Regions from separate parts of the Homo sapiens genome. Here all the other regions are linked to region 1. The links are contacts of gene promoters, found by promoter capture Hi-C in blood cells and fetal thymus (Javierre and others, 2016). All regions are on one chromosome and are shown on one strand. Each heading gives the region's core, a stretch centred on a gene start or on the middle of the fragment in contact. The rest is flanking DNA. Distances are from core to core; before and after follow the strand shown.

Evidence for each region. The method cuts DNA at HindIII sites, captures the fragments that hold promoters and counts their contacts. A CHiCAGO score of 5 or more calls a contact.
Region 2: the fragment with the promoter of STMP1 here is called in contact with the fragment with the promoter of TMEM140 in region 1 in 9 of 17 cell types (non-activated CD4 T cells, total CD8 T cells, naive CD4 T cells and 6 more); the score reaches 7.9 in non-activated CD4 T cells.
Region 3: a contact is called between a fragment that was not itself captured here and the fragment with the promoter of TMEM140 in region 1, in 2 of 17 cell types (naive CD8 T cells and total CD8 T cells). The highest score is 7.0, in naive CD8 T cells.
Region 4: a contact is called between a fragment that was not itself captured here and the fragment with the promoter of TMEM140 in region 1, in 1 of 17 cell types (erythroblasts). The highest score is 5.4, in erythroblasts.
Region 5: a fragment that was not itself captured here is called in contact with the fragment with the promoter of TMEM140 in region 1 in 1 of 17 cell types (total CD8 T cells); the score reaches 6.2 in total CD8 T cells.

Annotation. Positions count from the first base shown.
Region 1 is chr7:135,146,132-135,150,465 of GRCh38, reverse strand. TMEM140 (transmembrane protein 140) reads right to left here and starts at 2,394. Exons shown (of 2, transcript NM_018295.5): 1 at 2,196-2,394. It also overlaps a transcript of CYREN not described here. RefSeq lists an enhancer at 2,116-2,615. The HindIII fragment of the contact is 6,449 bases long and covers 1-2,945 here.
Region 2 is chr7:135,660,074-135,663,856 of GRCh38, reverse strand. STMP1 (short transmembrane mitochondrial protein 1) reads right to left here and starts at 1,343. Exons shown (of 3, transcript NM_001130929.2): 1 at 1,263-1,343. The coding sequence starts at 1,277. It also overlaps the pseudogene RPL15P11. RefSeq lists enhancers at 1-84, 85-609 and a silencer at 1,249-1,468. The HindIII fragment of the contact is 1,162 bases long and covers 957-2,118 here.
Region 3 is chr7:134,452,454-134,456,708 of GRCh38, reverse strand. All of the region lies in intron 1 of AKR1B1 (aldo-keto reductase family 1 member B), which reads left to right. Among named protein-coding and RNA genes, the nearest start is that of AKR1B1, 4.5 kb to the left of the region's middle. The HindIII fragment of the contact is 1,484 bases long and covers 1,615-3,098 here.
Region 4 is chr7:135,937,656-135,941,999 of GRCh38, reverse strand. The region is part of intron 3 of MTPN (myotrophin); the gene reads left to right. Among named protein-coding and RNA genes, the nearest start is that of MTPN, 38 kb to the left of the region's middle. The HindIII fragment of the contact is 2,216 bases long and covers 981-3,196 here.
Region 5 is chr7:134,620,604-134,624,904 of GRCh38, reverse strand. All of the region lies in intron 1 of LOC124901750 (a long non-coding RNA gene), which reads left to right. Among named protein-coding and RNA genes, the nearest start is that of BPGM, 24 kb to the left of the region's middle. The HindIII fragment of the contact is 644 bases long and covers 1,146-1,789 here.

The DNA.
Region 1 (4,334 bases), core at 1,145-3,644:
CAGTGCCACACAGGACAAACCAGGTGCCTGCTCTCATTGAGCTTGTACTCTAGTTGGGAAGGCAAACACCAAATGTATTTTTTAAAAGGTAATTATAATTTTTGAAAAGGTTTGGGAAAGAAATAAACAGGGTGAGTGAGAGAGAGAAACTGGCAGGAGGAAGTGATGACTAGATTATAGGGTCAGGGAAAGCCTCTCTTCAGAAGAGATATTTGTTTTGAGTCCTGAAAGGGTTCTTCATTAACTAATACTGAAGCAATTGATCAGCTAACTAGAAAAGAGAAACAAAACTATTTTAGGTCCTCATCTCACTCCACATACCCAAATAAATTTCACATGGATCCAAGAGTGAAAGGTAAAACCAGATAAAAAAATCAATGATCTGGAAAAAAGGATATATTTGATTTATGAGTGAAAAATAAAATTTGGAACTTAAGAGCAAATGGAAACTACAAATAAAGAATTGCACAGGTTTAACTATTCTAAAATAAAGATTTCTATTCACCAAAAACAACATAAATATAATTAAAAGTCAATGAGCATGGAAAATATCTACCACAACTATGAAATGATTAATGTACTTAATGTTTAAAATGTTTACGCAAACTGTCAAAAAACATTACACCTCATTAAAAATGGACAAATATGAAGAGATAATTCACAAAGAATGCAAAGTAGTTAACTAACATGAAAAAAAATTCTGTAACTTTTCTAATGTAATTAAAGATACGCCAAGTAAAAAACCAGAGTTTCCCTATCAACACTGTAGGTAAAAACACTTGATGATACCAAAAATATGGTTAAACTGGCATTCTCACACAATGATGGTGGATGTGAACATTTGTACAAACTTTCAGGGAGGCAGATTGGCAATAAACATTAAAAACCCTAAAAATAGTCATATCTCTTTGGCCCACTTTTATAAATCTATCCTAAGACAGCAATCAGAAATCCAGTCAATAATTTATACATAGGAATGTTCAGCACAGCATTACTTTTGGCACAAAATGGGAAGCAGCTTGAAAGTCCAATATCAGAAGTAAACTATGATGTATCAAGGATAAAATACTATGCATCTTTTAGAAAAAGCAGGTATAAAATCACTCTACATAGTGTGACTACATCCATATAAAGAGGCATAGGAGAAAGAGACTAAAGAAGTATTTGAAAATGTTAATGTTAGCTGTGGTAGCTCTGGGTGGTGACATTACAGGCAATTGTTCTCTATTTGCAGTAAAATATTTTTAGAATTATGTGCTACATTTATGAAAAAAAAAGAAATTTATAAAACAGGCATTCAAAACAGCCTTAGTAATTAGATAAAGCAGGGACTAAGCTGGAAAGAAAGTTGAGAAAGGGGAATATGTGCAAGATTGAAAAAATATCTCATGGACTGAGTCTCAGACCTGAGATTTTGGGGAATGGGGTATGGTAAGTGGATACTGAAAAATGCTCTTCAGTTATCATGAGGGAAGAAGGAAATATGTGTCTTTTCCCTCTTTCAAAGGAGCCTTTGATTTTATAGGCGAAGAAGCATAGTGGAAGTTATTAGTGAAACTAAGCCCACATTAAAAAAAATCTCTTAAAATATGCATCAAGAGAACTAAAATACCACCATGGATTTCCACTGGGGCATGAGGAGCAATCTGGTCTAATGACTAACATAAGATCTAAACATCTCTTAGGTCCCATTCTTTGAGGCAAGAACACAAGTTTTTCTGTTGATATTAATCTTCAGTGTGTATTTTAAAGTTTTATGATGTGTTCGTAACTACCATTGAATAGTGGTTTAGTTAGTGTTGGTCGGTGACCTGCTTTTGTTTACCTATTTCTGATGAACAGTGTATTGCACAAGCCACAGCCATGTCCTTGTACACACTGCGTGCAAGACTCTGCTGTGTGCAGTCAGCCCTGCATCGTTTCTAACCAGTTATACTGGCCTTACTTTCATCATCTTTGAGGCCAGAGCTACACATGTTGATGCCGAAGAGTGGAAGGAAGGAGAGCAGAGAGTAAAGGGGGTAGATTATGTAGATTATACAGACATGAGCGAGGGAGGGTCACAGATACTGAACAACCAGTGAGTTCCCCTATGTGGATTGCCAGAACATGAAATATCTGAGAAGAAAACAAAATTGTCTTACAAGGTAGTAGACGTCTGGGTAAGCTGTGATGCTTGCAGGATCGGTACTTACAGAAAGGAGGTGCAGAGACCACAGGAACACTCATGAAAAGGAGAAGCAGGAAATCAGGGTTGGTTGTTTGAATCTTCCTTCTCGCTGGCTTTCTAATGTCAGACTCCAGAAAGGAGGAGTGGAAGGGAAATGGCAGGCAGATGCAGTCCTGAGCTGGTGCCCCCTTGCCTTCGCAGTCGTGCCTAGTAAACAGCTCTCTGAACTTTGGTACATTTGTTCTGACTGATGTCACTATCAGCTGATTTCACTTTCGTTTCCTAACTTGCCAGTGGCCCATGACTTTTCAGAAATGAGGTATGTAAACAACTTTTTATTGTCCATTATGACATACTCTTTACCTACACTGTAGCCGGCAAACCAACTGATTTAAAGAGCCAGGTAAATGTCTTGATTATATCACACAATAATTCCAGAAAGGGAAGGAGCCAAAGAACTCTCGAAGCTCCCAGTGATTTAAACTGCAAGATAAACACAACCCGGAATTTTATTCAGAAGAAACCCATCAGGATCATCTGGTCCAAGCTCCCAGCCAGTGTGGCAGTCAGGACCCAGGTCACCTCCTACTCATTTCCTTGGGAAGCAGCTATGCCGTCTGTCCCCCAACCCCTTTTAGAGATCAATTTTGTAATGATGACTGGGCTTCTCTGGACACAAAACTTTGTGTCCTGAGCATTCTCACTGCAGTGTTTAGGCCCATGTTGGAGCAGCTGGAACATCTATTTTATTTCAAAATAAGAGCCGAACAAAGCTTTTATTTTTGTAAGCATTGGGGCTCCTGGCCAGAGTTTAAAAATTGCTTCCGTTGCTCACATGACCAACTGGAAATTTCAACTGTGGGTTAAACTTGGTTACATGAGACTGCTACCTAGTGCTATTGCTGAATCCTTCAGCGGTTCTCTTCTGCTTCCTTGCCCTTCCTCCAAAGGAGGAGTTATTTGAACTGCTACATTGCCCTCCCCCTGCCCCTAGTTCTTTTAAACGCAAACTCTAGAAAGAGGTGATGGGATCCAGGAGGAAGGAAGAACAGAGGCTTTGAGATCAGAGAGTTCTGCTACATACTAGCAAATTATTTAATCTCTTTGAGCATCAATTTCTTATCTGTAAAATGGAAACAGTACCTACTTTGCATGGTTGCTCTGGGGACTGGAGATAATATAAGTGCTTAGTACAATACTGGGACCATAGTAATGGTAGCTATTATTATGAAAAGTGGAATTTCTGTATATTTAGTCTAGCATCCATATTAATGCCTTTAAGACAGAAAATTAACTTTTAGATACTAATATACAGTAGTTACTCTGAAAACTCAATACTGGTGAGTGAAGTGATATAGAAGAGATAGAAACATATTTATATTTATGAAATTTATTCAAGGTTATCATGTACCTAGTTTTCAAAGAGTCAGTTTTTCAAAACTTACGAAAATCGGCAGTCCCACACTCTCCCTTTCTTCCTCTTCAGAGGCAAGCACTTTCACCTGTGCTCATTCTTTAGGCATTTACCTCAGTTCTCTAAATAACATGCTTGGATTGGTACTTCTTGATTTTTCAGTTTCAGGCATAATCTACTGACTCCCAACCATAAAAGGTGAAGATTTAGCTTTCTTCTTCCCCACTGCATGTTCCAGAAGTATGCTTCCTCTCTTCCTCCTCTATCCAAATTGGTTATAGTTTTGTTTAAATCAATATTCAGTGTTTACAATATTGGAATATGCACAGGTATACTTTATTTTATTGTGCATCTCTCTTTGTGGATCCTGCATCTTTTACAAATTGAGGATTTGTGGCATTTTTGCATCGAGCAAGTCTATTGGCACCATTTTTTCAATAGCCTTTGCTCACTTCATGTCTCTGTGTCACATTTTGGTAACTTTTGCAACATTTCAAGCTTTTTCATTATTATTATGTTGGTTATGGTGATCTTTGATGTTACTATTGTGATTGTTTTGGGGTGCCATGAACCGCACCCATATGACGGTGAACTTAATTGATAATTCAGTTCTGACCGCTCCACCAACTCTGTGTTGGTGTTCTGACCGTGTGTTCTGACCACTCCACCAACTGGACGTTCCTCCATTTCTCTCTCACGTTAGGTCTCCCTATTCCTGAGACACAATAATACTGAAATTAGGCCAATTAA
Region 2 (3,783 bases), core at 94-2,593, 510 kb before region 1:
CCGGCCAACGGGGTGAAACCCCGTCTCTACTAAAAATACAAAAATTAACTGGGCCTGCTGGCGCGCACCAGCTACTCGGGAGGCTGAGGCAGGAGAATCGCTTAAACCCAGGAAGCGGAGGCTGCAGTGAGCCGAGATCGCACTACTGCACTCCAGCCTGGCGACAGAGCGGGACTCCGTTAAAACAAACAACAAAAAAAGATACAGCATTTGAGCCGGGAGCAGTGGCTCACGCCTGTAATCCCAGCACTTTCGTAGGCTGAGGTGGGTTGATCACTTGAGGTCAGGAGTTCGAGACCAGCCTGGCCAACTTGGTGAAACCCGTCTCTACTAAAAATACAAAAATTAGCTGAGCATCCTGGTGCGCGCCTGTAATCCCAGCTACTCCGGAGGCCGAGGAGGGAGAATCGGTTGAACCCGGGAGGCGGAGGTTCCAGTGAGCCCAGATTGCGCCACTGCACTCCAGCCTGACGACACAGCGAGACTCCGTCTCAAAAAAAATAAAAAATAAAAAAAAATAGAGGTTGAAAGCATCAAGTTTTGAATGCACAATAGCTTGGCAGAAAAACTTTCACTTGAAAATTTGATGAGCAACTCCTGGAACCTTCACCAAGCAATTTTTGAAATATACCGAGTTTTGCCAGAAAACTCGTTTTTAACTCAAATAAGGAGCCAAGAGAAATAGTCTGCTTACTCATGCTTACACATTTTGGGAAAAATTACTTGTATACCAGTGTCTGACTCATTCCTCCAACTCTGAAAGGTCTGATGAGGACTTAGCCTCTCGGACTTCGTGAGGTGGCTAATTTACGGTTTATTCCTGGCCTTCCTACCTCCTCAGAAAAGCCAACTAGCAGGGCTCCACAGCAGGGACCGGCCGGCGACCATGTAATGGAACAGGAGCGCAGAAAGAAAGGGGGGCGGACTACGAAAAGTCATCAAGGACCACACAAGCTTTAATACAAAGATTGCACAATGAGCGCGGGGCGCGGCACACAATAAGAAGCTCTGGAAACGCACACTCTCTGACACCTCAAAGTTTTAGGGACTTGGATGGCTGCAGAAAAATATTGGCAAAGGGATTTTCTGGGGAGGCAGGAAGAAAACGGCCGCCCTGCGAGGCGACGACCAGGCGCGGGGGACGAAGGGACCGCTGGACCCACGCCCAGGCCGGGTCGGCGGGGTCGGCAATCCTCAAGGGGGAAATGGGGTCCGAGGCACGCCCCAGGCAGCGGGCCCCGCTCTTCGGCAGCTCCACTCACCAGGAACTGGAGCATGATGTCGGTGGGGAGGGCGAGGAGGGCGCGAAGGACTGCAGCAGCTCCGCGGGCCGGTCCGAGCCTACCTCCCCATGCGCGGGGGGGGCGGAACCCCTCGTCGACTTCCGGGTCACGCCACGCCCCGCCCCGCTCCTCCCACTCAGCCCGCGCCCGGAAACGACTTGCAGTGTCGCAGCGCCCAGGTTCCCCCTGGCGGAGCGCGTTGGCCTCACCGCCTGAACCGGCGGGGCAGCGAGCGCGCGACAGGACTTGCGAAGAGCAAGTCCCGAGCCTGGCTGGGCATCCTTGAGCATCCCGCCTCTGTAAACCTGGGCCGAGGCCCAGGAATCTATATTATTCTCAGCACGCGGACTATTCTGATACACAGCCCAGTTTAGGGCTCTCTAACCTAGAAGGACGGCATGAGCAGCGGGTCCCATCCCTAGGTTCGCAGCTGAATCGTGGGGGCTTTTGCAGCATCCTCTACTTGGGCCCAGCTGGACTTTGCGGGGAGGAAAGGAGGCTTGTAGCTCTCAAAGCTCCGCAGGTGTGCTGTGTAATCAGCGTTGTGTAATCAGGTGTTGTGTAATCAAGGTAGAGGCTGGGTACCGTATGGGGCCCATGCTGCCGTGTGCCGCACGCCAGTCACTGAGATGATGAGTTTTGTAGCAGAGAAAAGGTTTATTCACCAGGCAGCCAGCCGAGGAGACGGGAGAACAGATCTCAAATCTGCCTCCCCAAAGATGGGTTTTAGGGATATTTATGGGATAGAGGAGCAGGGTGGTCTGAGGTGTGGGGAAAGGCGGTTGAAGGTAAGGAAAAGTTTGGCAATGGGTTATCTGCGCGAGGTAGTCAAGCTTCATGGCTCTTTATAGGATACATGGTCACAAAATGACATCCTTAGCATGATCTGAGTGTGGAGGTTTTGGCCCTCTAATGTCAGAAGGACACCCATCGGGCTTTCATGCAGGCCCAGTTGAGAGGTTGGTGGTTTAAACTGTACAAGAACTGACCCCAACTTCCTGAAAAACAAGAAACCTTTATCAAGCAACCCAGATGTCAGAGATGTTATCCATAAGGAAGATAGTGGGAGCTTAGATATATATTGTTTAGCTCTGTGACTTTAGCTATGTGGGTTTTTTAATCCACTAAAAGCAGGTGACTAAAAACAAGTGAGAGAAGTTGCATTTGGCAGGCCTCATCAGGTTGGCTCTCAGTTTCACTGGCCTAGCTGGGTTTCTTGCCTGGGATGGCCATAGGTCCTGTTGACAATTTGTATCATCGCCACAAAGAGTCTGTTCTGTCAGTCTTCCGGTCTGTGTATGTGTGTGTTTTTTTCTCTCTTTCTCTTTTAAAGAATTTATTTTAAGCCTATTATACCACACAGTATGTTTTAAACACTAACTCCCTAATAAGATATATAACTCCCTAATAAGATAAAGCAAAGACAAAAAAAGTTCATCTTATTAGAAACAAGATACACCATCCCTTATTGTCTTCAAAAATTATTGCACTTTAATTTTCATAATTTGACAAAGCATTCATGAAACAATCTGCAGACTAGTTTTAACAGACAAATAACACCTGTAAGCAGACATGACTGTCCTAAATTATTAGGTACGAATTTTACAAACTTTTTTTTTTTTTTGAGACGGAGTCTCGCTCTGTCACCCAGGCTGGAGTGCAGTGGCGCAGTCTCGGCTCACTGCAAGCTCCGCCTCCCGGGTTCACGCCATTCTCCTGCCTCAGCCTCCCGAGTAGCTGGGACTACAGGCGCCCGCCACCACGCCCGGCTAATTTTCTGTATTTTTAGTAGAGACGAGGTTTCAACGTGTTAGCCAGGATGGTCTCGATCTCCTGACCTTGTGATCCGCCCGCCTCGGCCTCCCAAAGTGCTGGGATTACAGGCGTGAGCCACCACGCCTGGCCCAAACTTTACTTATATTAGTGGTAACGGTGGAGCTGGAGAGTATCACGCCTTCTCCAAGCTGCCCAGCAAGAACCATCAATAGTGTGGTGGAACTTATGGCACTTTCCAAGGCCACAGCTCCTTTGGCCTGCAGATGTCAGCCCACACATCTCCCTCTGCTTGTGGACTGGTTTGGTGATCGACTGGGTGTCAGGATTTCTTCTGATAACTTCATAGAATGGATCAATGAGGATAACCTCAAAAAATCTGTATGTGGAATCTTCACCAACCCAGTAAGAATTCAGGACTCTTAGAGCCCCACAGTTGTGTCCAACTCGCTCCTCTGCAATGGACTGAAGGCTTCGAGCAAACTTCAGCTGGTTAACACCATGATGGACAGGCTTGCCATAAGTTGCACCCTTAGGAATTGGGCATTTTTGACCACCATGGTGAACATGAATCCTATATATAATGTAACCTTGCTTGGCCTTGTAGCCCAGCTGGCGTGCTTTATCAGGCCAGGTGGGGCAGGGAGCCCCGTGGACAGCAGATAGCTGGCAGTACTGCCAGCAGCAGACCCTCAGAAGAAAGCGCATGACATCAGACTGCTTCTTC
Region 3 (4,255 bases), core at 1,107-3,606, 690 kb after region 1:
TATGTGTTGAATTCATATGAAGAAGTAAAACGACTTTAGAGATAGCTGTATGGTGAAAACGCCCACTTGTATTCCTGTGGATGAGGAGATCAGGTTGGTGTAGAATTGTACGGTGGGGGCAGCGGGGAATGGTGGGTCAAAGTAATGGTATAAGGATGGACTTGGAATCAACTTCCTTTTTTTTTTTAATGACTTAAAACCTTTCCCTGGGGCCGGGCGCGGTGGCTCACACCTGTAACCCCAGCACTTTGGGAGGCAGAGGCGGGCAGATCATGAGGTCAGAAGATAGAGACCGTCCTGGCTAACATGGTGAAACCCCGTCTCTACTAAAAATACAAAAAATTAGCCCGGCATCGTGGCACGCACCTGTAGTCCCAGCTACTTGGGAGGCTGAGGCAGGAAAATCGCTTGAACCCCAGATGTGGAGGTTGCAGTGAGCCGAGGTCCCGCCACTGCACTCCAGCCTGGGCGATGGAGCAAGACTCCATCTAAAAAAACAACCAAACAAAAAAACCTTTCCCTTGTATGTGTGTATGTATTCTTTCACAGATGCTCGACAGAAGATGTGATCCTTTGCCTGTCTTTGTGACAGCTGGAGGAGGCCCTGCAGGCAGGTGCAGTTCCTTATTCTCCTGGGTCTTCCCATGCCGTAGCGGCTGTGTTGTACCTTTCAGACCCTCAGCAGGGCTCTGGTAGTCTCTACTCTTGAAGGTCCTCAAACTCCATTCTCTTCTCAGGTGAGGGTTTCAGGCAGATGGGGAGACCATCTCTGCCCCAGACCCATGTGGCTTGGACAGGGTTTCTTTCTGGCAGTCTTGCCTTCTACATTGGATAGTAAACAATTACACCTGTAATCCCAGCACTTTGGAAGGCCAAGGCGGGTGGATCACCTGAGGTCAGGAGTTCGAGACCAGCTGGCCAACATGGTGAAACCCCCTCTCTACTAAAAATACAAAAATTAGCCCGGCATGGTGGTGGGTGCCTGTAATCCCAGCTGCTTGGGAGGCTGAGGCAGGAGAATCACTTGAATCCAGAAGGTAGAGGTTGCCATGATCTGAGATTGTGCCACTGCACTCCAGCCTAGGCGACAAGAGCAAAAAAAAACTCGGTCTCAGAAACAACAACAACAACAAAAACCCATCACAGCATTGTAAAGCCAGGAAGCTTTTAAAACAGAGATGATGTCTGGTGCCCACCAGTGTCTTGTTACTGATAGTGTTTTTAATCTAGTTGAAAAATTGTTGGAGGTAAAAGTCATTGTAAGTCTCCTATGTATGCTCACAGAATACTCCTAGGGCTGAAGGTACAACTATGTTTCTCCATCTTTTGCCATGATCACTACCTCCCTCCCACCTAGGAGCCTTGTGAGACTTTTTTTTCCCCTAATTTGCCCCAAAATAAAATTGTAATATCAGAGATAATATTGTACTTCTGCTTATGGCCAGTAGCCTTCTAGAGGGTCACAAGCTGTTCTATAAGCTGAGGGGGGTTTTTTTGCCCCAGAGAACTAATTTTTGTCTCTTTGGGGACAATAGCACCCACTTTAAGAATGCATGAGGTAAAAGAAAATGTGCCAGGAAAGACTTGCTCCACCTTCCCCAAGTGGGGTAAGCTTGTGATGGCCCAAGATCCTTGGATGGGGTGAGGGTTGAGGCGCTGTGGGCATGGAGGTAACACAGGAGCCAGATTTACTGTTCACTTCCCTGGTGTCTCTAAAGCCCCCATCTCTTCCTCTTCAAGACCAAAGACATTTAAATAAGCCCTGCCCCTACAGGGTCAGTCCTGGTCCATGCACATCTCAACTAGTTGGAAACAGCAGTGTCTTAGAATTTGGGACAAATTGATTAAAACAGAACAGGAGGAAGTTAATTTCTGCTGCCAAACCTGATTCTGAGTGATCGTTTCCTGTTCCTTGCTCCAGGATTATCAGCACAGCATTCTCATGCTTCCTACTCAGGACCGTTTCTTTACCCAAAGTGAAGTTTCCTTTGCCCCCTCCCCTTATCCTTTGATTTCAGTAGTAACACCTGCTAACTAGAGAACATTTCAAAAATGAAGAGTTCCCTGTTCCCAGAGATCCCCGTGGTTAATATTGCAAAATATCCAATCTCTGAGATACTTTGGTTTTACCATAAACACTGTCCTGTGACCGTCTTCCTGTTTAGCACTGTGGCTTGCTTTTTGACTTGCAGAGGGAAGAGAGGGAGGGGTATCTTGAAGTAACTAGCAAGACCTGTAAGCAAAAGGGAAGAAGACTAGGTTTTAAAAGGAGTGTTGTATCTGTGTAGGAGGGAGACACTGATTTTAGTTATCAGTGTCTCAGAGTTGGTATTAGCCAGCCGGTGTTATCAAAGGAGGAACTAGGACCGCTGTCTTGAAGGAGGTGGTGGAGGACTCAAGGGCAGAGGCTTCTCACTGCCATCACTTGGTGCCATCAGCCCAGAGCATTTCAAGTCACTGCCCAACGTAGAGCTTTGCAGAGCCAGAAGTTCTGGGAGGAATGGGCATGCATGGTTTTGCCCATCAAGGGCACACAGATTAGTGGCAGGATCGGGTTAGAAACATGTAGGATTTGTATGATTGAGCTGTAATTGGAGTGTTTCATATACTGCATTTCTACAGCTCTCATCAGTAATGGCTGTGCCTGGATGCCACCCAGCATGTTTTCATAGTTTACCTTCTTTTTAGAAGTCAATCTGGACCCCTCCTTCTGTTTGCATTTTCTCTTTGTTGACATGGAATGGGGAGATGTTGTCATCCTGTGTTGGCATTCCCAAGTTTAGTGAATGGTTTCTCACCATAGCTTAAGTTGGCTGCTTCATTTTTCATAAGGCAAATTAGTTTCTCTCAGGGAAGGGCTGTACATTGAGATCATTAACATAGAATGTGGTTGTGGATCCTCGTACATTTTCATTGCAGAGGTGACTTTTTCCCTCCAGCACCTTTGATCAGCCTCCCAGCACACATGTCTCCAGCGAATGGCACATATCCAAGGAATGATCAGCAGCTTCTTCGTGACCTCTTGCAGTCATTGCTGTCTTTTACTTTTCTAGAAAAACCTCTCACAACTTTTTTTTCATGTCGTGCCAACGCAAGCTTGATTATCCTAGTCTGTGCTCTTTTGGTTCCAAAGAACTGAAAAACCACTTTAATCTTAAGCAGGAAAAAAAAAAGTGTGTTTGGGGTGGGGATTGATTGACTTCCCCAAACAACAGCCGCTGACATTAGGTGTTTGAGATTCAGGGTTGTAAATGTTGTCACCAGGATTTGGCCTCCCTCCACTTTCCTGCAGCAGCTCCAGGCTGACATTCTCCCAGCTCAGTGACCCCAGCAGAACCGGGGCTGGACTCAGGGGTTCCAATTCAAGTGCAAAGATTGAGTCTTATGGCCTGGATTGAGTCATGTTCCTGTCCCCGCACCAGTTGCATGGCAGGCAGTGCGTGGCTAGGCTGAGCCTGCGGAGTGTGCCCTCAGCAGCTCCTCAGAGAAAAATCAATCAAGGCGCCATCAAGCCTGGAGAAAGTTCAGTGTGTCCTGGGCAGTTTCCTGCCTGGGCCCCAGTTGTTCTTTCTGGGGTAGGGATGTCCTCTGCTCTCCCTGCTGTCATCAGTGGTGGTTGTGCCCGGACACCACTCAGGGCCTGTGGTAAGGCATTCTTTCTGGAAATTGAGATTCTCTGTTCCTTCAACCGTGCAGAGTGGGGAAGGCTGCAAGAGCAGCTTCTGAGGTCCTCCAGTCAAATAAGAGGTCGCCAGGTCCTCTGAGGGTCGTCCCCTCTTAACCCACACCTTCGATGAGCATCCCCACCCTGCCTCGCTGCTCCCTCTGAGGTGGAGAGTGAGCTCCATGCTAACAGGCTCTGGTAACGGGCTTGTTCAACTGGGCCCCTTTCTTCCCCAAAGCCTGTTGAAAATAGCTGATGTCAAAACACAGATGTCTGCAGCTGCTATGGCCCTGGGGGGTTTTTCTTTTCATTTGTTTCTACCCCAGCTCTCCAAAGGAATGTGCTCTGTTCATTCAACAGCCCGCTGCACATGTTTATTGCTCAGCTCTGTGATCATAGCAGGATAGTGAAAGTTGGGGGATACGTGTCCATGCAGCCTACCTGGGTGCCAGTGAAGCGCGATGCCATGTAGGCACTTCCTCCTCCTCTTCAGTAGCCAGGCTCCCCACAGCTGTTCTGGTTACTCAGATGGTCAGGTGGCTTGGCCATGGACACCCATTCAGTCATTTTGCCAGGTCAGCCACTAACCAT
Region 4 (4,344 bases), core at 839-3,338, 790 kb before region 1:
AGGCAGGAGAATAGCTTGAACCCGGGAGGTGGAGTTTGTAGTGAGCTGAGATCATGCCATTGCACTCCAGCCTGGGCAACAAAAATGAAACTCCCGTCTCAAAAAAAAAAAAAAAAAAGTAATATAACAGCTCAATATGTGACTGTCCTTGAAGAGGAGTAATTTGAAGGCTCGTTTGTGCTTTAGCCCATCCTATTTCCATGATGAATTTTTCTCTGAAACCTTGAAATGATCTTTCTATTCATGTTAAATATGATTGCTATAGTGATATTAAAATCATATTTTTACTAGGGGTACCATAAGAACAAATCCAAGACCATTATATATGCAACTGAAAATGAACTATAGTTAACTGTGTTCAAATAAGGAATAAAACGAAACATAAAATGTCTCATTGCTCACATGTGTGTGAGTCTCATTTGTTAGTTTTTGTCATTTGAGTAAGTTTGAGCAGCTGCTTGGAAAACTTGAAGTACCTGCCTCTTTAGATTTTAATTGACATTTTAAGAATTGAATTTTTGGAAAAGTTAAAGAGATGAGACAACAGCATCAACACTTAACCCACTTGGTAAATTAAAGTTCTCAACAAATGCTTTGGTTCATATGACATTCCCCATTGTTGGAGAAGCAGAGTGGTGCAGATAGAGGAGCTTGGCAATGAAGTTAGTAAACCTAGATTTAAGGCCTGGTTCTGTAACTTCATAGCTAGTAAATCACTTGACATCTGAACTCAGTGGGTTTAATAGTATTCATACCCCAGGATTATTCTGAGAATCAAAGAAGGTAATGGTCTTTCCTATTTTTAGTACTTGCCACACTATTTATGAAATATATGAGAACTAGTCTCTGATTCTCCCTAATGCCCTAGAACAGTGGGCAACAAACATTTTCTATTAAGGGCCAGGTAGTAAACATTTTCTGTTAAGGGCCAGGTAGTAAACATTTGGGGCTTTCTGTGCCTTATGGTCTCCATTAAAGCTTCTCATCTCTGCCACTGTGATGCAAAAGCAGCCATAAGCAACATGTAAATGAATGAGCCTAGGTATGTTCCAGTAACATTTTATTTACCAAAGCTGTATCTGCCACTTAATAGAAACTCAGTAAAGATTCACAGAATGGACTTGTGAATTGAGTGTCTATGAAAAGATGCTGTGGTGTCAGAGTGTGCAACAGATGACAAGTCATATGTGTGCCATCCCACAGTTCTTTTATTTTCTGTAAGATACAAATAAGCTGCAGATATCTAAAGGTAATAAATTCCAAAATCTAGTCTTGTCCCTAACATTTTGGGGGGAGAGGCCATGGGTAATTTTCAACTAAATGTGGTATAGAATACAAAATTTGGAGTCAGATGGTTCTAGTTTTCGTATTTGTTGACTGACCTTGGGCAAGTTTCTTAACTGAGCTTGAGAGCCTGTCTACAAAATGGAGTTAACAATGTCCACTTCAGGGGACTGCTGTGAGAAACATGTGGTTACATATTTTTACTGTTACATTAAAAACTCAAAACTGCTACGAAAAATGTAAGGGAGGTAACAATCACTGTGTTTTGTATTATGTTAGACCTTATAGGTCTAGTAAAGACCAGAAATTGTCTTTACTCTGTCTCCTGTATCAATATGTAAATTAAATATGAAATTAAATGTGCTATGAAATCATCCTGCACCAGTAGATAAAATTGCAAAGTATGTATAATTGTAGGTATTTGAATAATTTTTAATGTCACTAAATACCAAATCCATTTTTAGTAGTTTCCGAAATTGAATCATATGTTTAAGTTCTATGGTAATATTTAAGTATATATTTAAACAGTGTAAGGTTTTCAGATTCTGAACATTTTCTCATAGTACCATGGAACTACAAACAGTTGCCTCAAATCATGAGATAATGGAGTTCTTTGTGAGTATAGTAGTTTCTCAAGACTGTTCTAAAATGCATATAAATTGATTCAAAATAATTGACAGTATTCTTTCTAATGATACAGTAGTACATACTTAGACAAGATAGTATTTTTAAAAAAATAATTTTTCCTTTTAATTTGGATGCTTGTGTTCACTAAGGGTAATATTTCTGTTACTATGACCCAGATGTGAATTTTTTTCATTTAATATTTATTGAGCATCTGCTGGCTACAAGGCATTATCCTAGGTATTAAAGCTATAGGGACAAATATAACAGGACCCCTTCCTTCATGGAGCTCAGCCTAATTTGGGGAAGACATACCTGTTAATGGTTAATTACAGACTGTGGTAAGTTCCCTAAGAAAGGTGGAGTTTAGCCATGAGTAACAAAAACCCTTACTACAATGATCTAAACGAGAAAGTCTGAAGATGTGCAGTCCAAGGCTAAGTGACTGGCTCCGCTGTGTATGTTGTTGATATCCCACACTGGGCACCCGCCCCACGCACCCGCCCCCCCCCCCCGCCCCCATTTTCCCCAATCCTTATGGTCACAAGATAACTACTGAACCGCCAGGCATTGTGTCTGTTGACAACAGGAAGAGGGGGGAAAGAGCTAAGGCCAAAATTAGGTCAGATAGTCACCTGTAGCTTTAAGGGAGTCTGAGGATTTCACTTATTTTCAACCTCTGTAGTAGAGGAAAGCAAAGAAGAACGGGTTGGAAGTGGGTTGTGTCAGATGCTGAGTGAGCTACAGTACTGACCTGTGATCTCCAGGGCACCAGCTGCCTGGGAAATCCCAGCAGGCTTCACAGAGAATCTAACAATTGAATGAGAGGTAATTGGGTGGTTCCAGGGAAAGAATAAAGAATGTCTTTGATGCTTTACGTTTTTCGAAGTCTTCATGAGACATTTAATATCAAAAGGAAGTACACACTGTATTCATTTAAATACTGGGGATATAGGAGTTAACAAGGTAAACAGATCCTCCGCTCTTGGACACCTCATTTTCTAGAGGGAAGGCAGAGTAACACCTCATTTTCTAGAGGGAAGGCAGAGTAAACAGGTATACCAATAAATGTAACTTAATTTCAGGTAGTAACAAGTACTGTGGGGGGAAAAAAAGCCTTTATAAGGGTAAAAAATAACTATTTTGGATAGAAAATTTCTTAAGGGTATTATATACTTTTCTCTTAAGCAGAGTAACAAGACATGATGATTTCCTTGAAGCCTTACCAGCATCCAACCCTCGGGGGTCTGTTGAAGTTTTGGTTAATTGTCCTTACACTAGCTAAGCTTTAGCCGGGCTCAGTCTTGGTTTCTTTCTTACTATAGTCATGTCAAGCTCTTGTCAGATGTTACTGTTGTTAGTGTGACCGTCTTCAGTAGGCCTTCTCTCCTTTCTGTTTTCTGTTTCTGATTTAATTTTGACTGAGAAGGTCTGTGTTTGAAATAAAAATTTCTGAGTGAGGACACCAGCATGCTTCTATGGAATGATGAAGAGCTTGAACTCTGTAAAGCTGTTTCAATGGTTTTTTAAAGTTTTATATTCACTTCCTGTCAGTTCAAATCAACATAAGGTTGCTAGAATCCTGACCTGATAAGTGTCTGTCATAAAATGTTAAACTAGAAACATTGCAAATATTCCTTGAATTGACTTTAATCCTCAACTGCAGTCTTAGTCCTTTCAGATATTTGTTTTGTATTTGATTCTAAATTGCTTTCTTTCCAAAGTGAATTGACCATTCAAAACCATGGTTGCTAAAGAAAATTTTCTGAAGTAATTGGTTATATTCCAAGGGGGAAGGGTATGTGTGTGTGTTTATCTGTGTGTATATGTAGATAGGTAAATCCATATGCATATGTAGAGATAACACACAGTTTGCCCTCCATAGCCATAGGTTTTGCATCCATGGATTCAACCACAGATCAAAAATAGATTCAGAAAAATAATAGCACAATAATTACAAATAATATAAATTAAAAAGCAATACAGTATAACAACTGGGTGACCCTTGAACAATGCAGGGGTTTAGGGTTGCCAACCCCTGCACAGTCAAAAATCCACATAGAATTTTTGACTCCCAAAAAACTAATAGCTTACTGTTCACCGGAAGCATATAGATGACATAAACAGACAGTCAACACATATTTTTTGTATGAGTTATATACTTCATTGTTACAGTAAAGTAAGCTGGAGAAAAGACTATTAAGAAAATCATTACAAAGACAAACTACATTTACTATTCATTAAGTGGAAGTAGGTTACCATAAAGACCTTTATCCTCATTTTCTTTGCTTCAAGTAGCTTGAGGAGGAGGAATTGGGGGTTGGTCTTGCTGTCTCAGAGGAGGAAGAGGTGGAAGGAGGGACAGGAGAGGCAGGCACACTCCATGTAACTTTTATTGAAAAATATCTGCTTATAATTGGACCTGCACAGTTCAAA
Region 5 (4,301 bases), core at 218-2,717, 520 kb after region 1:
GAATCAGAAGATGTGTTTAACTTTATAAGAAACTGCCAAACTTTTTGTCAAAGTGGTTATATCATTTTATACTTCCATCAGCAATATATGTGAGTTTTAATTGTTCTGCATCCTTACCAATACTTGATACTGTCAGTCTTAGATTTTAGCTATTCTAGTGGGCATGAAGTAGAATAACATTGGGGAAATCACCACTTCAGACTCAATTTTTCCATCTACACAATGGTGCAGTAAGACTTAGAAGTCAAAGGAAATAAGTATTTGAAAGGGCTTTGTAAAGTGTAAAGCGTTGATCAATACAAAATATTCATCTTGACAGAAGCCAAGATACATGATGCTGAACATACCACGCAGTCCTCTGGGTATAAATATAGGTTGAAAAAGATTAGACTGGGAAATAAAATGTTTGTTACTTTGTAACCATTTCCTTTTTGTTATATTATTTTCTTCCTGGAAAATTATATATAGGAAGACAAATTCAGGTAGTTAATTAACTGGAACCCCCAATCATTCATTCTAATCACCGATAGGCATCCAATAAATGTTTAGTTAAGCAATGAAGTATTTAGTTACACATTTCTCATAAGTACATGAATGTTGCTTATATTGCCCTTTTAAAGAACTTATTATTTCTTTAAGGAGATATAATCAACACATCTTCAGACATAATCTGCCTTTGGTCTGTTTCTGTTCAAGCAATGCTGCAGAGGCTTTTAGCTAGCCTGCTACTTCCAATAGCTGTGATCTTTCTTGAATTTTCATAATTTAGCTAAATATTTACATATATTGACTATCAACAAAAACATAGCAACCACATAAATATATTTTATTTGAAGCAAAATATTGTACTTGTAGATTTTTTTTCTTTTTGTAATTGGTATTCAATGATGCCTTTTTGTCCTCACTTATCAAAAGGAATCCTTCTTTTAGTGAAGTTAATACATAAGGAAATCAGCTTGAAAACTTCATGAGAACCAGTTTTCTAGAATCAACATCAACCATTATCTCTTTGTAGCCCCCTGGAACCTTCGAATGGAGAGGGGAGGATTCTCTTCCTTCACCCTCCCCCATTTCCCATTTGGGCAATACAAATAGCCCAAGTCTTAGTTATTCATTGAGTTTGATGTTAAGAGGTACAAAAAGCTTATAAGGCTCGCATTCAAGGGGAAACTGGGCCAACTATAAAATCTAAAGAGAAAGTACGATGTGAAAATTGTATCTGAAGGATAAAAAAGTGTGTCTCACATATATTTGAATCAGATGAATAGTCAGCTACTTTGTTTCTCTAAGAAAATTAGTATAATATTGTTTTCTAGCATAGTAGGATACTTCTGTGTATAATAAAAGACATCCTCAGTGTATTGGTGTTTTGGTTTTACTCACTCACCTTTGCCCATTTTGGACAACAGAAATGGAAAGCAAGAGTAATTTTGCTGGAGAAAGAGAGATGGCTGATGCTGGTATGTGGATATGCATGTATGGACATGTAGACCAAGGAGTCTCCTGTGTTCCCCGCCCTCCACACTCTCCTTCAAACACATTAACACGACAATGAAAGTATTCTGGCAAGTTTGGGTTTGTGGATGTGTCATGGGTTGATAAATTTGGTAAGTAGTTTCATATAATATTTTCATAGGTGAAGAATCAGAAGATTATCAAAAAATTGAAATAGTGTCAGAGTTCTATAGCTCAGGAATCTCCTGGCATCCATATACCTTTTACTTCGCTATCCATTTAAATATTTCTTCTAAAATCCCAATGTCAAACCCAGAGATTAAGACCAGAAGCTTGATCTGATAGCCCTCCTCAAAATACTTATCTTCCAGGTACTTTAAGGTTAATTTCACTGATGCCGTCTAGTGCTACAGTTTTGTCTCATGATACTTTTAGAGAAGTGCTTGAGGTTGATATATGCAATGCAAAGACATCTACTGGCCCAGTCACAGGTCATCTAATTTTCCATCTTTTTGCTACTCAATTCAAAATTGAAGACTTTGTAAACTCTCTGTAACCAATTTCCTTGTAAACGCAACTCATTTCTTGCCCTCCCTTTCCCCATGCCTTCTTTCCTGAGAAAACTGGGGCAAGTATTCATAAACATCTGTTGTGGTTGTTCTTTGATTCGTTGCAGATTTATTCTGTGTTCTGTTATGTTCTTTGTCCTGGGAACCTGACCTCTAGGTACTGTGTTACCGAGGTTCCCTTGCCCTCTGGTCAGTGGGAGGAGAAGATGTTGGAATATTTATTTTCAATATATCTCTCCTCACCATTTATTCCCACTCACCATCTGCTTCACCGTGGTTCTATCAATGGCCTCATCACTCAAACTATAGCTACCGTTGGGCAGCCCATCTTGACTCTAACTCTTAGCCAGTCTCCAAAAATTGCGTTTTCTCCCCCTACTGTTCAGGCCTGGGGATCATCAGAACTCCCTGCTATTCCTAGTGTCTGGGCACCTCAACATCCCTTGCTAGTTCCTCTAACCCGAACCACACCTCTAAATATTTCCTTTATGAAAAAGCCTCTACACAACAAAGCTGAGTGTGCTGTCTCTCTTGCTGAGAGGCTGATAGAGCCTCCTGTCTTCAAGTTCTTCACAGTTCATGAGACAGTGTCAGACTTAGGGATCATAGACTCCCCTAAGCCTGAAATTTAAAAAGTACCTGAGCACACAGACTCACATTTCCCTCTGTGCACTCACAGTACTTAGAGGGAAGCATGATGTCAGGAATAAAAACAAACTGAACTAATTAAATAGGAACATTTTTCTGAAACACCCTATGCCGTTTGAGTTAGAAGCCCATAGGAAAATATTATATTTGCATTTTTTCGGTCAAGAATGATATTTTCTGGGGACAGAAACAGAACTTGGGAAGATAATGACCGTTTGTGGAGCTATTGGGATGTGTATCAGCTATTGCCACAAAAATTCTGTGTCACAAACCACCCCAAAACTCGGTATCTTAAAATAGCAATCATTTAATCTCACAGAGCTGCAGGTCAGCTGGGTGGCTCTGCTTCATCTTCTTCATGTGCCTTGGACCAGTGACTAGTCAAGACACACTCTTCTCGTTGCAATGACTAGTCAAGACACACTCTTCTCGTTGCAATGATAGGGGTGCAAGAGGCCAGGCCCAACCACTCAAGCACATTTCAACCCCCTATTTCTGTCACATCTGCCAAGGCAAGCCATGCAGCCAAACCCAAAGTCAAGGATTTGGGGAAGGATATTTCCCTTGTGGAGGTAAAAGGGGGAAGGAGTGAATATTTTTGAAAGTACTCTACCACAGTGGGCCAGCTACAGAAAAGTCATTCTAGAGTGGGCTACAGTTTGTTCAATTAAAGGCAGGAGAATTTTTGTTTCAGAGTTTTTCTTCTCATTCTTCGTAAGTGAACAAGAGTGACTTTACAGTGTACACTACTCAGGTGATGGGTGTACAAAAATCTCAGAAATCATCACTAAATAACTTATCCATGTAATCAAATACCACCTGTTTTCCAAAAACCTGTTGAAATAAAAAATAAATAAATAAAATCAAGCTAAATATCTTGGCATCCAGAAACTTTTTTAAAATGTAGAGATAGTATTGCCCTAGAAATAGAGGCATTTTGGGGTTTTAGATACCAATCAAATGTTATTATGAAGATTTCATTATCTGTTCATGGTTAAACTGGTATTGCCAGACTTTGAGACCCTAATCAAGCTTTGTCTATTTTTATTTTCCTGCAAGGTTCAGATCCCAAAAGAATTACTCTCATTCTGAATCCTGTCTGAGACTCAGTACACACCAATGAGTATGCCTGTTGGTAATTCTACAATCTGGATATCCAAAAAAGTGGCCAAATGGTCCAAAACTAATACTCCCTTATCTGTACAGGAGCTCCCTAATTAGTAACTAATTTGTGCTTTAACTAAGGTTTATTTGAGCCCCTCAATTTGGAAGGGGTTAAAGTTGAAGATTCCAACAGATTTCACCAAGCTTAGTATCCACCAATTCTTTCCTATCTTAAGAAGGGGAGGAAAATATTTTCCTTATATAGGATTGAAGAGGAACAAAAAGCCCTTAGTTATATTGATCATCGGGAGGAAGGGGAAAAAAACTATTTTAAATGGTTTGAAACAAAGGAACAGCAAAGAAAATAGGGAGCAGAACAACAGGAAATGTCCATTATGCTGCTAGCACAGTGTGTGAACCAAAGAGTGTCCATTAATGATGATTGACATCAATAGAAACATTAGCTTGCACCTCCAGTTCTTGAGGGACAGTACAGAAATCCAGAGCAGGGAGAAACAGTATGAT